Linked DNA regions of Homo sapiens: region 1 is linked to region 2. Evidence: promoter capture Hi-C in human tissues and cell types (Jung and others, 2019). All regions are on one chromosome and are shown on one strand. The core of a region is centred on a gene start or on the middle of the fragment in contact, and the rest is flanking DNA. Distances in the headings are between cores, read along the strand shown.

What was found. Contacts are between HindIII fragments. The study calls those that stand out against the background at their distance.
Region 1: a fragment that was not itself captured here is called in contact with the fragment with the promoter of FER in region 2 in 1 of the 25 tissues and cell types used here (dorsolateral prefrontal cortex).

What each region holds. Positions count from the first base shown.
Region 1 is chr5:109,825,320-109,831,498 of GRCh38, forward strand. All of the region lies in intron 16 of MAN2A1 (mannosidase alpha class 2A member 1), which reads left to right. Among named protein-coding and RNA genes, the nearest start is that of LINC01848, 55 kb to the right of the region's middle. The HindIII fragment of the contact is 4,676 bases long and covers 2,563-6,179 here.
Region 2 is chr5:108,745,174-108,752,233 of GRCh38, forward strand. It overlaps FER (FER tyrosine kinase), which reads left to right and starts at 2,724. Exons shown (of 20, transcript NM_005246.4): 1 at 2,724-2,827. RefSeq lists silencers at 3,491-3,590, 3,671-3,730, 3,861-4,270. The HindIII fragment of the contact is 13,051 bases long and covers 1-6,107 here.

The sequences.
Region 1 (6,179 bases), core at 3,651-6,150, 1.1 Mb after region 2:
ATGGCACACACTTTGGCACAAACTTGTGTCATCAGGTTTGATTTACCATTGTTTTTCATCAGTTATATTTAGAGATGGGCTATGTCTCAGAGGAAATGCTGTAGCAACTCTTCCTAAAATTCCAACTTCTCAATCAGGTATATTTGCATAATTGCTTTTGCTTTTATTTAATTATGTCACTGTATCTTCTGGGTTTTCCTTGGATTATCCAGGACCTCTAGTTCTCACATCATAGGGCAGTTTGTGTAGACTAGATGGCCCTGTTCTGCTGCTAGTGGCTGTAGCTTAGTGCTTGACTTGGAAATTAATAGGCTCTGACTTGCCTATTTACTTATTTGAGCAAACTACACTCATCAGAACTAAATGCTTGTCATTTTTCCTTTCCCCCTCTCTTCCTGTTTCCCTCTGGGCAGTGAACTGTCCAGTGGCTAATAGTGTTAAGCAGGAGCCCGGGCCACTGAGGTTTGACTGGCTCCTGGCCTTCCAAAGGGGCTCTCAATGTAGCCCATTTCTATTTGCTGGTCTTGCCTCTGCCTCTTTTCTCTTTTTTATTCTTTAGTTTTCTTTCTTTCTTTCCTTCCTTTTTTTTTTTTTTTTTTTTTTTTTTGACAGAGTCTCGCTCTATCGCCCAGGCTGGAGTGCAGTGGAGCGATCTCGGCTCACTGCAGCCTCTGCCCCACTGGTTCAAGGATTCTCCTGCCTCAGCTTCCTAGGTAGCTGGGACTACAGGTGTACACCACCACGCCTGGCTAATTTTTCTATTTTTAGTAGGGATGGGGTTTCGCCATGTTGGTCAGGCTGGTCTCGAACTCTTGACCTCAGGTAATCCACCCGCCTTGTCTTCCCAAAGTGCTGGTATTATAGGCATGAGCCACTGCACCTGGCTTGATTTTCTTTTTTCATGTGTTTCCTTTCTAGATTATTTGTCTTCTCTTCCTTGGTGTTCTCGGGCATATGAAAAAAATAATAAATGATGGATAAATAAGTGTAATGCAAACTTAGAGCGCCTCACTGATGAGTTTTACAGTAGTTGCCTGGATTAAATGAGAAGCCGTCATATATAAACTGGACGTAACCTGTAAATCTTTTTTCATTCTAGTCCGGATCATTTTTTTTTTCAACATGAAAGCAGTTGGTAGGAAATAGAGATACCAGAATCACCTGAAATGCTTTCTTCCAAACTATATACCTTCCCGTGTTTGTATTTGAGCTCCTCTTAACAAATCTCCCTCTGGGAAAAGATAAGCCCGGTTGTGGAGAGAGTCTTTCCTTAGTAATCTTCATGACTCACCTGTCTCTCCTGTTTTTCACATACCATTGCCTGAACACTCGGGTTGTCTCAATCCTGGCTGATTGTGGTTTTAATGAAATCACTAATCAAGGCCCATGATAGATATACGAAGTCTTCAGGGTATTTGGCTCTATCAGCGTTCACGCTGCCTGAAAGGGTGATCAGTCTTCAGGGATCTGTTATTTAGTGCCAAGTCTTCCTTATTAAGAAATACTGGAAAGTTGTTTAACATTCTAAACTTTGGCCTCCTGTAAATCAGACACCTGGATGATTGATCAAAATGCATAGACAAAATGTGGCTTTTCATTTTAGATGCAAAGGAAACGTCAGCCAACTTCCATGCTGTTGTAGATTGGCTTTTAGCTAGTATTGCATAAAATAACAAAAAATATTTATTCTTGAATTTAATTTACTAAACTAGTTTTGGATATATGCTACTTTTGTCCCCCTTAAACCAACCAGATGCAGTTATTTGCATGAGTATTAATGAATAGAGCCTATTTGTTGTTAGTACCAGATTTTCAATCCAGGAAGAAATGAGGGTTTGGGGAGAGAGACTATTAATGTTTTATGATTACATACTGTAATTGTATTAGGTTACTAAACCAGTTAATTATACAAAAGATTTTGTAATCTCAGCAACAAGGAATAAAGAAACAGAAAATGAGTTAGTATTAAAGATTGTCTTTGTTGGGTGTCTATTTTTGTTAAACCTTACAAATCCAATTTAAAAACTAAACTAACGCATACCTGACAAAATATTCTTACATTTCTCAGTCTCTACTTTAGTTGTTCTTTGACCCTTTTCTCCCCAAAGTAACTATTGCCCAAATTAAGCTTCAGGAGAAAACAAAATCAAGAACGACAAGCAACATTTCCAAAATTATATAAACTTTTTGGTCCTTAATGATTTTGAAACAGAGTTGAGAGGCCGTATAGTTCAACCTACTTTTGTTTTTGGTTTGGTATTTAACTTTTGTTTCTCTATCTGCATTCTCTCCAGATTCTGAAAATGATCAGAAGTGCAGTTGAAGGGCTCTCTCTTTCTTAACATCTTTTAAACTAATAAAAGAACACTCTGTTTTCCTTTTCATTATCGTTCAGACATCGCATTCAAAAGGTTTCTAAAAATACTAAATTAGAAGAAATCTTGTGCTCACTAGCCTTAAAAGCTCTACAAGATCAGAGCAGTTCAGAATTTCTAATGAAGGCGTGGCACGGTGGCTCACACCTGTAATTCCAGCACTTTGGGAGGCCAAGGCAGGCGGATCACAAGGTCAGGAGATCAAGACCATCCTGGCTAACAAGGTGAAAGAAACCCCGTCTCTACTAAAAATACAAAAAGTTAGCTGGGTTTGGTGGCACGTGCCTGTAATCCCAGCTATTCGGGAGACTGAGGCAGGAGAATCGCTTCAACGCAGGAGGCGGAGGTTGCAATGAGCCGAAATAGCGCCACTGTACTCCAACCTGGGCAACAGAGCGAGACTCTGTCTCAAAAAAAAAAAAAAGAAAAAAAGAAAAAAAATTTCTAATGAAATATATTGTTTTGCCCATGTCAGGTTTAATAAATCCATTTTATAGCACCCATAATTTAATGAAATGCAATTTATTTCATTTGTAGAAAATAACACTCTTCTGGGGGAAAAGTTGAGGGAGGTGGGAATTAATTTTTCTTGCAGTATAATCATCTTTCATTTAATTGAAGCTTTAAACATTACCATATAGGCTGCTACTTTAGCTTTTTTGGTTAATCTGTAATTAGAAGATAGAATATAATACAAACAGAAGCTCCTGTATCCTCTTGTGTTTTATTTAATACTGCACCTACAAGGAAAGTACATACCTTGCAATAATATAATACCAATAAGTGACATTGTTAACTGTGGCCTTATTTGTCTTCAGAGCTGTAATTATTGGACTTTAGTGTCCTAGTTTCTGATATCAACAGCTACTTTGAAGAATTAGGTCACTGTGGGTAACGAGTATGTCGTGTACATTTCATTGGCGCAAGGACTGTGTTCTCCTAGGCAGGTGTTTGTTAGCGAGTTAGTATGTATGTGTGTGTAAACCATGTTTTAACCCTTAGGGGAAACATCTTAAATGCAATACTTCTGCCCTGTTTTCCACCAACATATTATAAAGTATTATATGTAATGGATCTTACTCAAAGAAAACAAGCAGCCTGGAGGTAAAATGTAATGAACTGACATCAAAAAGTATGGAAGGAAAGACTTTCCTTTGACTGAAATGACTGATTTTCTTGCATATTTAGCAATCGAACAGAGTTGCTTAGTTTTTCTCTGAGCAATTTTGAATATATAAACATAAGTGGATTTATAACCTGACTCTTGGCTTTTAGAGAATCAAAATGAGCTTCATCTAGTTAAACATATTAGGGGACTTCAAAAAGTTTGTGGACAAATGGAATTAAAAGATAAAAATTAAAAATATAAACTATTTCTCAACATAAGCTTCATCAAGTTCATGACGCTTTTGTAAGCAATGAATCCAGCTACTCAGTCCATCCCTAAGGAACAGAGGGTCCTGGAAATTTAACCATGTCATTTCAGTCTACTTATATTATTAAGTAAAATGAGTGCCCATTAAATATTTTTTTAAGATTAGGAAACAAAAAGAAGTCAGGAGGAGCCAAATTAGCACTGTAAGTGACTGCCTAATGATTTTCCATTCAAACTGTCACAAAATTGCCCTTGTTTAATGAGAGGAATGAGCAGGAGCATTATGGTGGAGAAGAACTCTGATGAAACTTTCCTGGGTGTTTTTCTGCTAAGGCTTTGGCTAATGTTCTCAAAACATTCTCATAACAAGCAGATATTACTGTTCTTTGGGCCTCCAGAAAGTCAACACACCAAATGCCTTGAGCATCCCAAAAAGCTGTTGCCATGACTTTTACTCTTGGCCAGTCTTCTTTTGCTTTGATTGGACCATTTCCACCTCTTGGTAGCCATTGTTTTGATTGTACTTTGTCTTCAGAATCATACTGGTAAAGCTGTATTCCATCTCCTGTTACAATTCTTCAAAGAAATGTTTCAGGATCTTGATCCCACTTATTTAAAATTTCCATTGAAAGCCCTGCTCTTGTCTGCAGCTGATCTGGACGCAATGGTTTTGGCACCCATTGAGTGGAAAGTTTCCTCAACTTTAATTTTTCAGTCAGAATTGTATAAGCTGCTAATTGTTAGTTCTCTTCAGTTAGAGCAGGAGCAAACTTAATTTTTTTCTTGAAAATTGGTGTAGTCTTCGTCTTCTACATTGTCCCATCCCTTCTTAAAACAATTTATCTGTTTTGTAAAGTGCTGATTTTCTTGGACCATTGTCTCCATAAACTTTTCATAAAGCATCAGTGATTTCACCATACTTCCACCTAAGCTTCACCATAAATTTGATGTTTGTTCTTGTTTAAATTTTAGCATAATTTATATTGCTCTGATAGGGGCTCTTATCAAATCCAAGTCTCACCCTTCTTAGTGCTCAAACTAGATCCTGTTCAGACATGTTACAATAAGTAAGTATGAGTTTATTTTGATGAAATCCATGCATAGTTTTTTCATGATATGCATTTTCCATGAAACTTTTGAAGACCCCTCTTATAAGGGAATCACATTGGGATTTGGAGATCCAAATCCTTAGTTTTGCCTCTAAGCAAACTAGAGGAGTATGGGTTTGTCCTTTAATTTCTTAGGGACTCAGTTTCTTAATCTATAAAAAAGGTAGATGTTCAATTAGGTATAACTGTCAAAGAGTCTTCATACAACTTAGTTTCACATAAAATCTCTTGTGCCTGACTCCCTGCTTCTAAATTCATCTTCTACACTTGGTCTTAGCCAAAAGGCCAAGAAGTGATTAAATTCATCTTCTAAGAATGCCTGAATCTGGGGCTTCCATCCCTGGAGTCTGCCCCACTTGTAAACAAGGTCTCAGAGCTTCACTGAAGTTCTTTTTATTTTCATAAAAAGATTCATGAAGACATTAAGATGGTTTGCAATCAATCTCTCATTTTTTTCCATAGCTATATTCCATATTTAGTTTGATTTAAAAGTAAAAAGCATTAAGTAAGTTATAGCTAGGCAGGCTTAGGTAATTAAAACATTTTTGGAATATCATAATATGCAATTGACTGCTAAGGATTTTTTTCCCTGTTAATTGGAACTTTTAAAAATTGAAATAAGTAGCTATGTGACGAATCTGATCATTCCCTACAGGCATGAAAGAGAAGGTTATTTTAAGGGACTGCAAGCACATTCTGGTTACACAGATTCAGAACTCAGAGGTTATCTTTGGGGCTGTTTGAGAGCAGCTGATTGTTGAAGCCATAACTCCTTAGCAAAGAAGCATCATCCCCTACAAAGGTGGGTTGCACTGAACTCAGGTGAAGGGCACAGGGATGGGGGAAACACAGGAGATATGTAATGGCTCAGAGTTGAGACTCCAGAGCCAGTTCTCTTGTGTTTTATTCCCAGGCCCATCCTAGGTCTGCCACTTAGCAGCTGTTTGACCTTGCACAGGTTACTGCCAACCTGGCTTTGGTTTTATCATCCTGAAATGTTGACAGTAGTAAAATCAGCTTCAGAGGATGTTTGGAGTATTCACCGAGTAAATATACAAGGAACCTTACCCATAGTGAGTGTTGTATCTACTTACAAGAGTGAGTGAGCCAGATGGGTTAGATAGTTTACTATTATAAGACAAAGCATGGTCATTAAGGATTGGGGGAATTGGGGAGGATTTAATGAAGGAAGTGAGTCACTGAGAGGCTAGGTCTTAGAGAATGTCACATGAAAGGCAGAAAGGAGGAAAAGAATATCACAATGTGTGAAATAAGGTTGTTTAGAACCCCACTATAAGGATTTGAAGAACTCTTTGTCCC
Region 2 (7,060 bases), core at 1,474-3,973:
GCCTGGGTAACAGTGAGACTCTGTTTTAAAAAAGAAATGAAAAAAAAAATCTGAGAAAAGGATGGCTTAAAAAGGGACAGGCCTTTAGTGATCCAGGGGCATTTTGGAGAAGGCATGTCTTGATTACGAATGTTGGTGGATTTCTTAATGGAGAGCAGGTCAGGGAAGCAGGAGAACCAATATTAATTAGAGTACTAGGATGGCCACCCGCTGGCTGGGAAAGATGGTTGGGAGATGGTGTTAATACATTTGACATCTAGTTTGAAGACAGAATGGATGTTTTCTTCCTTCAAGTCTACTTCATTTTCTTTTCTTCCCTCCCCCTCCAACTACTCTGCTATTTTCCTAACACAGATTCAAAAAATAAAGGAAATGATTAAGCCATTTTGAAAATTTGAAATTTGGAAAGCCAAAACAGTCCTAAAGAAAATTTCACACAAATGTGACCTCTAGGAACAGTATTCATTCAAGAGAACAATTTTCAAAAAGAAAAAAATATATATCCACTGAAAACAAACACTGCAGCATGTATAGAATAAGGATAGATATGGTTTCCATATTGCATACCTCATCATGATCTCTATTTTAGGAGCAGTATGTGTGTATGGTTAGTTATGAATTGTGGATAGGTATGAATTGTGGATTAGAAAGCAGAGAGTCACAAATCAAAGGAGTTGGCAGAAAAGAGACACAGATGAAGAAAAGGAGGGAGGGGTAAGTATTGGAACTACTGAACTAAGATGGCACACAACCAAGATTCCTCTTGCAGTCTATACTTTTAAACAGGAAAAAAGGGAGGTGGAGAGATGGGGTGAGGCATGGATGGTGCTAATCAAAAAAAGTAAAAAACTTTTCAATCATTTTTTATTACCCACCTAGGTTTGATGTCCACATTATTATTTTCATTGTCCAGTAAGTAATGCTATTAGAACAGACAAAGTTTGGTATTTGAGAACATGGAATATATACTAAGGTGACACACAGTGTTTATTAAATGTGTTGCAATGCAATGTGATAATTCCAACAGAGGAAAAAAATGTGAAACTGGATTTGCTATATATTTTTGTATGCTTCAAAAATGCAGCATAGATTTTTGCCACATTCATTTACTTCAAGTATATTCTTTCACAACTGCATTTCCTAGCACAATGACTGGCATATGGTAGACAGCTTTTAAGGTTTTGGAATGAATAGGTGAGAACTCAGAGAACAATTGTAGATATGGAAAGATTCTTGCTGATTTTTCTAGATTTGGGTTCCTTAACACAAACACACATGTTGTGTATCAAACAGCTCTATTTCTACCATATCTTTATTGAAAGCTACTTTCTGCAAATATGTAATAACGTATTCACCAACCACATCTTTCTACATTTTGATTCCCTTTGTATAAATGGAGAAATTCTAAGGTTCTTGGGAAAGGTATTCAGTCATGAAGCAGTCTCCAAAGTTGTATTTTGGCCTTACCTAACCAAATTTTCATTCATTTCATTCTTATTGACATTACATATACTATAACATTTGATGTTCACAGAAAATTAACTTCTATTTTAAGAAGTTTACTCACAGAACCACAGTTTGTGCATTTAACAATCACTATGAAATACATATGAAACATTAACCATCATTTTAGAGAACAATTTAAAAACTCCGAAGTAACTACTTTCCTTAACTTTGTCATCCCAACATTCTGGGTATAGGCATTGTTGGAAAAATATAATTAAAAACCAAAATCTCCCAACCCAGAAATCCTCTCCACAAACGTTAGTAGACAAAACACTTTTATTACTGAATAAGCATTAAACGAGACTGTGATACACATCACAGGCAATTTGCTAAGAGATTGCAAAGACAGAAATCTTGCCCTTTTGTATAGCCAAGTATATACGACCCATTACATACACGTTTTCAAGTTGAACAATAACTAGTCCTCAAGTAAGAGGACCTGACATTTGTGACATTAACTTTACTTAATAATTGGGGTGACCATCTGTGTTAGTTAATTGGTTTTATCCAGAGGAAAAACAAACTTCTCCTGTCTTTATGACGGAAGGTAGTTTTGCAACACGGAGCAAGTTGCTCACCGAAGTTACGCTCCTACTCTCTCACAGAAACTGGGAGATAGGGAAGGATGCTACTCCGTTGATATGTGCAGCATTTCAAAAAAAAAAAAAAAAAAAAGGTCCAGAGACATTCCTGACTGAGCATACAGTTGACAAGACCTATCTAGTCCTCAAGTGGATTTATACACATTTCAAAGAGTTGAGAAAGTACTTAACAATTAAGAAAGTACTTAAGTTTTCTAAGACAAATGCTCGGAGAGAAAGGGACGGGAAATCTCATCCTCCATTTTCAATAGGGAGAATTAAGCCTCTTATTTAAAATTTTTATGTTGGTTTTTGTTTATTTAGCTTTAAAACAGTAGACTTAAAAAAAGTCCAACTTAAGATTTATGTTTTTTTATGTGTAGGGCTGTTCTCTACGGTTAAATAAATAACCCTGCTTAGAGAAAATATTCACCACTCTTCTTTGGCTCCTATGTAACTCAGTTTTTGAGAGGGAGGGGAAATACCGGATTGACGCTATGTGGTTCAACCAATGCAAAAGATAACACCGCCTTAAAAAGTCTACTACAGGAACATGGGAGGGTCACACCCTCGAATAATGACGCATACCTATCCTACTGTTACTGATCACCTAGTAATAATCTTGTAGTTCACATTACTCATTTTTCACCAAATTCTTTTGGTGAAGGACGCTTCAGAAACGGCCATCACTGAAGAGCAGACCCGTTTGGGTTCTCCACGCATTCTAGACTCCCGAAGAGGTAAGAATTTATTATAGGGGGCCACTCCCAGGACCTGCTGTATGCTTTTAAACATCCATTACAATTCCAGCATTGAGTTTCTAACATTTTTAGGCAGGCTCAGGCACTGGGAGTACAGGATTGAAAGACAGTTCCCGTCCTTAAGGGACTCAGAGTAAACTGGAGTTGCTGAAAACCATTCTAAAGCAATCCACGTTAATAACAGATACAAGTAAAACGTGGGAACGTACAGGAAAAAGTGACCAATTCTGAGGCTGAAAAGTGCCTATTTTAGGGGTGGGGGCCTCGCGGCCCTAAAGCAGCTTCCCTTCCCGGAGATTTCAGCTCCAGGGATCGCCCAGCGCCCTCCGGGCACACTTAACATTTTAATCACGCCTCCGCCCCCACTCTCCGAATTCCTTTCCGGCTGCCGACCCGCCGAGTAGTCCCTTCCAGGCGGCCTCAGCTTATCATCGCCGGTCCGGCCACTTCCCGGCCGCGGCCAGGCGAGCCTCCCAAAGTTTCCTGTGAGGCCTTCGTCCGTCTCCGGCCCCATCTCACCACGGCAGCCCAGGACACCCGCTAGGGAGGAGCAGGTTACCGAGGCGGGGAGAGCGGCACAAACGCGCAGACCTCGGGACTCCACCCGGGCTGGTGAGCGAGCCCAGAAAGCGGCGACCGCAGCTCCGCGTCTCCACTCCCAGGGCCCGCAGCTTGGGCTAAGCGTGCGCCCACCCAGCCTAGGGCCCAAGTCCTGCCCCTTCGGGGACCGGGCCAATCGGCCGCTCCCCGCCTCCTGGGAGGTAGTGGAGGAGGGGGCTGAGGGCCGGGCGGCTGCGCCCGCCTTCCGCTCTTGCCCATTGGCTGAGGCCTCGAGGGTGCCCGGAGACCGGAGTGCAGCGGGATTGGTTGCAGAGGTTCGTGACAGTGGCGCCTATTGGCTGTGGCAGCCCCCGTGACGCGGGGTGGTGACTGGCTCCGGAGTCTGAGGGGTTCGGGCTTGTCAGGTTCTAGGTAGGTGCGTTTCGCGCCGCCGGCGGTAGGCGCTGTTGCCCGGGGCAACGCGGGGGGAGGGGGGAAGAGGAGGGAAGGCAAGCCTAGAGCGGGGGCAACAATGCCTGCCCGCAGAGGGGCGCCCGGGATTCGGCCAGGGCGTTGGGGGCTGTGCCGAGGCTCTTCCTCCGCCCTCAGCCAGCGCCCCCCCCAACCCCCGTCCCTGGCTGCAGGGTCATCCGCTCATCCTCCCGCCCGCAGCAGAGCATTCCTGGTTGGGGCTTGGGCCGGGCTACACACCCAGCCCCACGAGGGCCGCCCCTCCCACCATCCCGGGACCCGAAGGCTGAGGGGGCGGGTGCCGGCGCGAAAGGGCTGTGGCGGGCGTAGTGGCTCCGCCCCGTCGCGGGGTCTGGGGGCTGATGGGCGTGAGGCGGGGTGGTGGGGGGACTGTGGGCACCACCCAATCTTGCCTGTACCCTCACCCCTTTTCTCGGCGGCACTCATCTGGGCGCCGCCGTCCCGCTACGGGGGCATTCTCAACCCCTGGTATTCCCCCCATCCCTTCCTGCTTCTGGAGCCCCGCAGTCTCCCTTGACCCGCTCGGTCCTCCCCAGCTCTCCTCCTATCTGTCACCTTCTCCCGCTTTTATCCCCCACCTCATCTTTCTCCTCCGGTCTTGGCCAGAGGTGTCCTCCAAGAGTCTAATCAAGAGATAGATCTTAAGTGTGAAGCTAGTGGTGTCGTCGGTAATTTCTGCTCTGTGGTCTCTTTGCCAGTTAGAATTGGGGAGATGTTTGGAGGCACCTTCAGGGGTCATCCTTCTGCCTTACAGTTACCCCTAGGATCTACTTTCTGAATACGCTCATTGGGTTGTGTTGGTAGGGGCAAGGTACTTCTTAAACAAATTGAGGATTGTACTATGAGGTGGGCACTTTGTACGTTTGCGATTTTGCCATCCACTGTAGTGCAATTCAAAATCTAATAATTTGTTACGGCTGGTAGCCTTACATTTTTTTCCTTCGCCTTATGGTTAAAAAAAGAGCAGCTTTTTAACCTTTTTAATTCAGAAGTTGCGTATATTAATGGTTGTCTCACTATCACTTTGACATAAACTGCTGTAAAGGTGTACTCCATTTTCCTTTTCTCCAGATATGTTAAGATAATAAATTTCTCAGATGAGGTTACCATATATAAAAGTGTAGTGGAACATCAATAAGAGAATAGATCAAAACTATTTTAGTGATTAAAGATTAGAAAATACTTTTCAATTCATATGTGGAATGAGAATAGGATAAAAAAAAAAAACTATTGCAAAATCTTTAGTGCAGTATTTGTAGTCCTGGTATATATACCTGTGTTGCCCTTAAGAAGACATTTGTGAGTAGCTCCAGGTTTGTCAGTCGGGAAAGCAGAGTGTATCTTTTTGTAGTCCAGGAAAGCTTTTCTGCTAGTACTTTTGAGCCAAGAGAATTATGCTTCCAAAGATGCTGGGAATATATTAAGAGAGTACATAGGCATACTTCTGTTTTCATCTTTGAAAGACCTTTAGTGAAGATCTGTTTCTCTTCTGCATTGATTGTTGACAGCATTAAATATACATAATCTAAAACTATGTAGTGTCAAGTTGTTGCAGCTTCTGCACTGCTTCAAAGGTTGATGTCTTTAGTTCAGAAGAAATAATTCAAGCTTTGGTAGACAAATCATTTACATTTCATCTTCGATGTAGATGTTACTGTAACTCTGGACCGTGAACATTTCAAATTTGCCAGTTTTTTCTCAACTATTTTACTATGAAAAATTTCAAACAATGCAGAAGAGTCGAGTTGAACCCACCACCTATATATTTAGCAATAACGATTTCAAGACCACTGTTACACAGTAAACATTAAGGAATAGAGGAACTGAAATGATCAAGCTTAAAAAACCAGCGTATGTGGCCGGGCGCGGTGGCTCATGCCTGTAATCCCAGCACTTTGGGAGGCCGAGGCGGGCGGATCACCTGAGGTCGGGAGTTCGAGACCAGCCTGACCAAAATGGAGAAACATGGTCTCTAATAAAAATACAAAATTAGCCGGGCATGGTGGTGCATGCCTGTAATCCCAGCTACTCGGGAGGCTGAGGCAGGAGAACCGCTTGAACCCGTGAGGCGGAGGTTGTGGTGAGTGGAGATCACACCATTGCACTCCAGCCTAGGTAACAAGACCGAAACTCCATCTCAGAAAAACAAAAAACAAACAAACAAAAAAACCACAAAAAGCCCAGCATATGTATATACATGTATATGTAGTATACATGTATATACACACCACCAAATTATAAGGTGCTTATTTTTGTTTGTGAGTGGGAATTGTACTTACTAAAACTATACTAACTTAATTACATGAGACTATTCAAAGCAATCTTGTGAGTGAGGTAGGAAGTCATCATCTTTGTAATCAAGGCCCAAATAAGTAAACTGCATTTTGGTAATCAGACAAAAGGAAATCTGATGAACTTGTTATACAAAAAAACGTTTTGCTTCAAAATTGGACTCCTGTGTAAATAGATTATAGTTTTGTACTTGATTTATAAATAAACATCTTTTGGAGGGAAGTCCAAGGGACTATCAATTATGTAAAATTTTGGTAACTTGATAAATTGGGTCAATCTTATGTCTGTTCATTTGGAATAAGAATGTATTTTTGTAATGGAAAAAGCTTACAAAGGTGAACTTTTTTTAGTAGAACTGCTTCATGGAGACTGACGTAATTAGAGAAATTTAAGTCAGTATTTCGATAGGACTCAACGATCTTGGGTGTTGTCTCATGGTTCTGAGGAATATTTTGATATAAAACTTCAATTTATAGTAAAGGAATAAGTGGAAATGGGTATAAATTCACACATTTGTATATTTGTAATTTTTCTATACCCGAGAAATTTGTGTACACCTTTTTAAGTATTTGAATCTTGCTTTTTAGTTTTTGCATACCCTAAATCTGTTTTTCATACTTACCTCGTTCATATAGTAATTTCTTAAATATTAAGGGCTATGTCTCAGAATTTATAGATCTCTGGATTGCTTTATTACTATTTTTCCAAATTTCATTTGTCTTTGGTATGCTTATGTATGGTTAACCTATCATGCTATTGAGAGACTGAAGGAAACAATTAGGTCACAGTTTTAGAACTTTAGTTGTAGATTCAGTGAACTCAGAAACAATTGGATTTTTTAAAATCAAGGCTCCAATTTTCCCTTCCCTCCCTTCCTCCTTCCCTTTT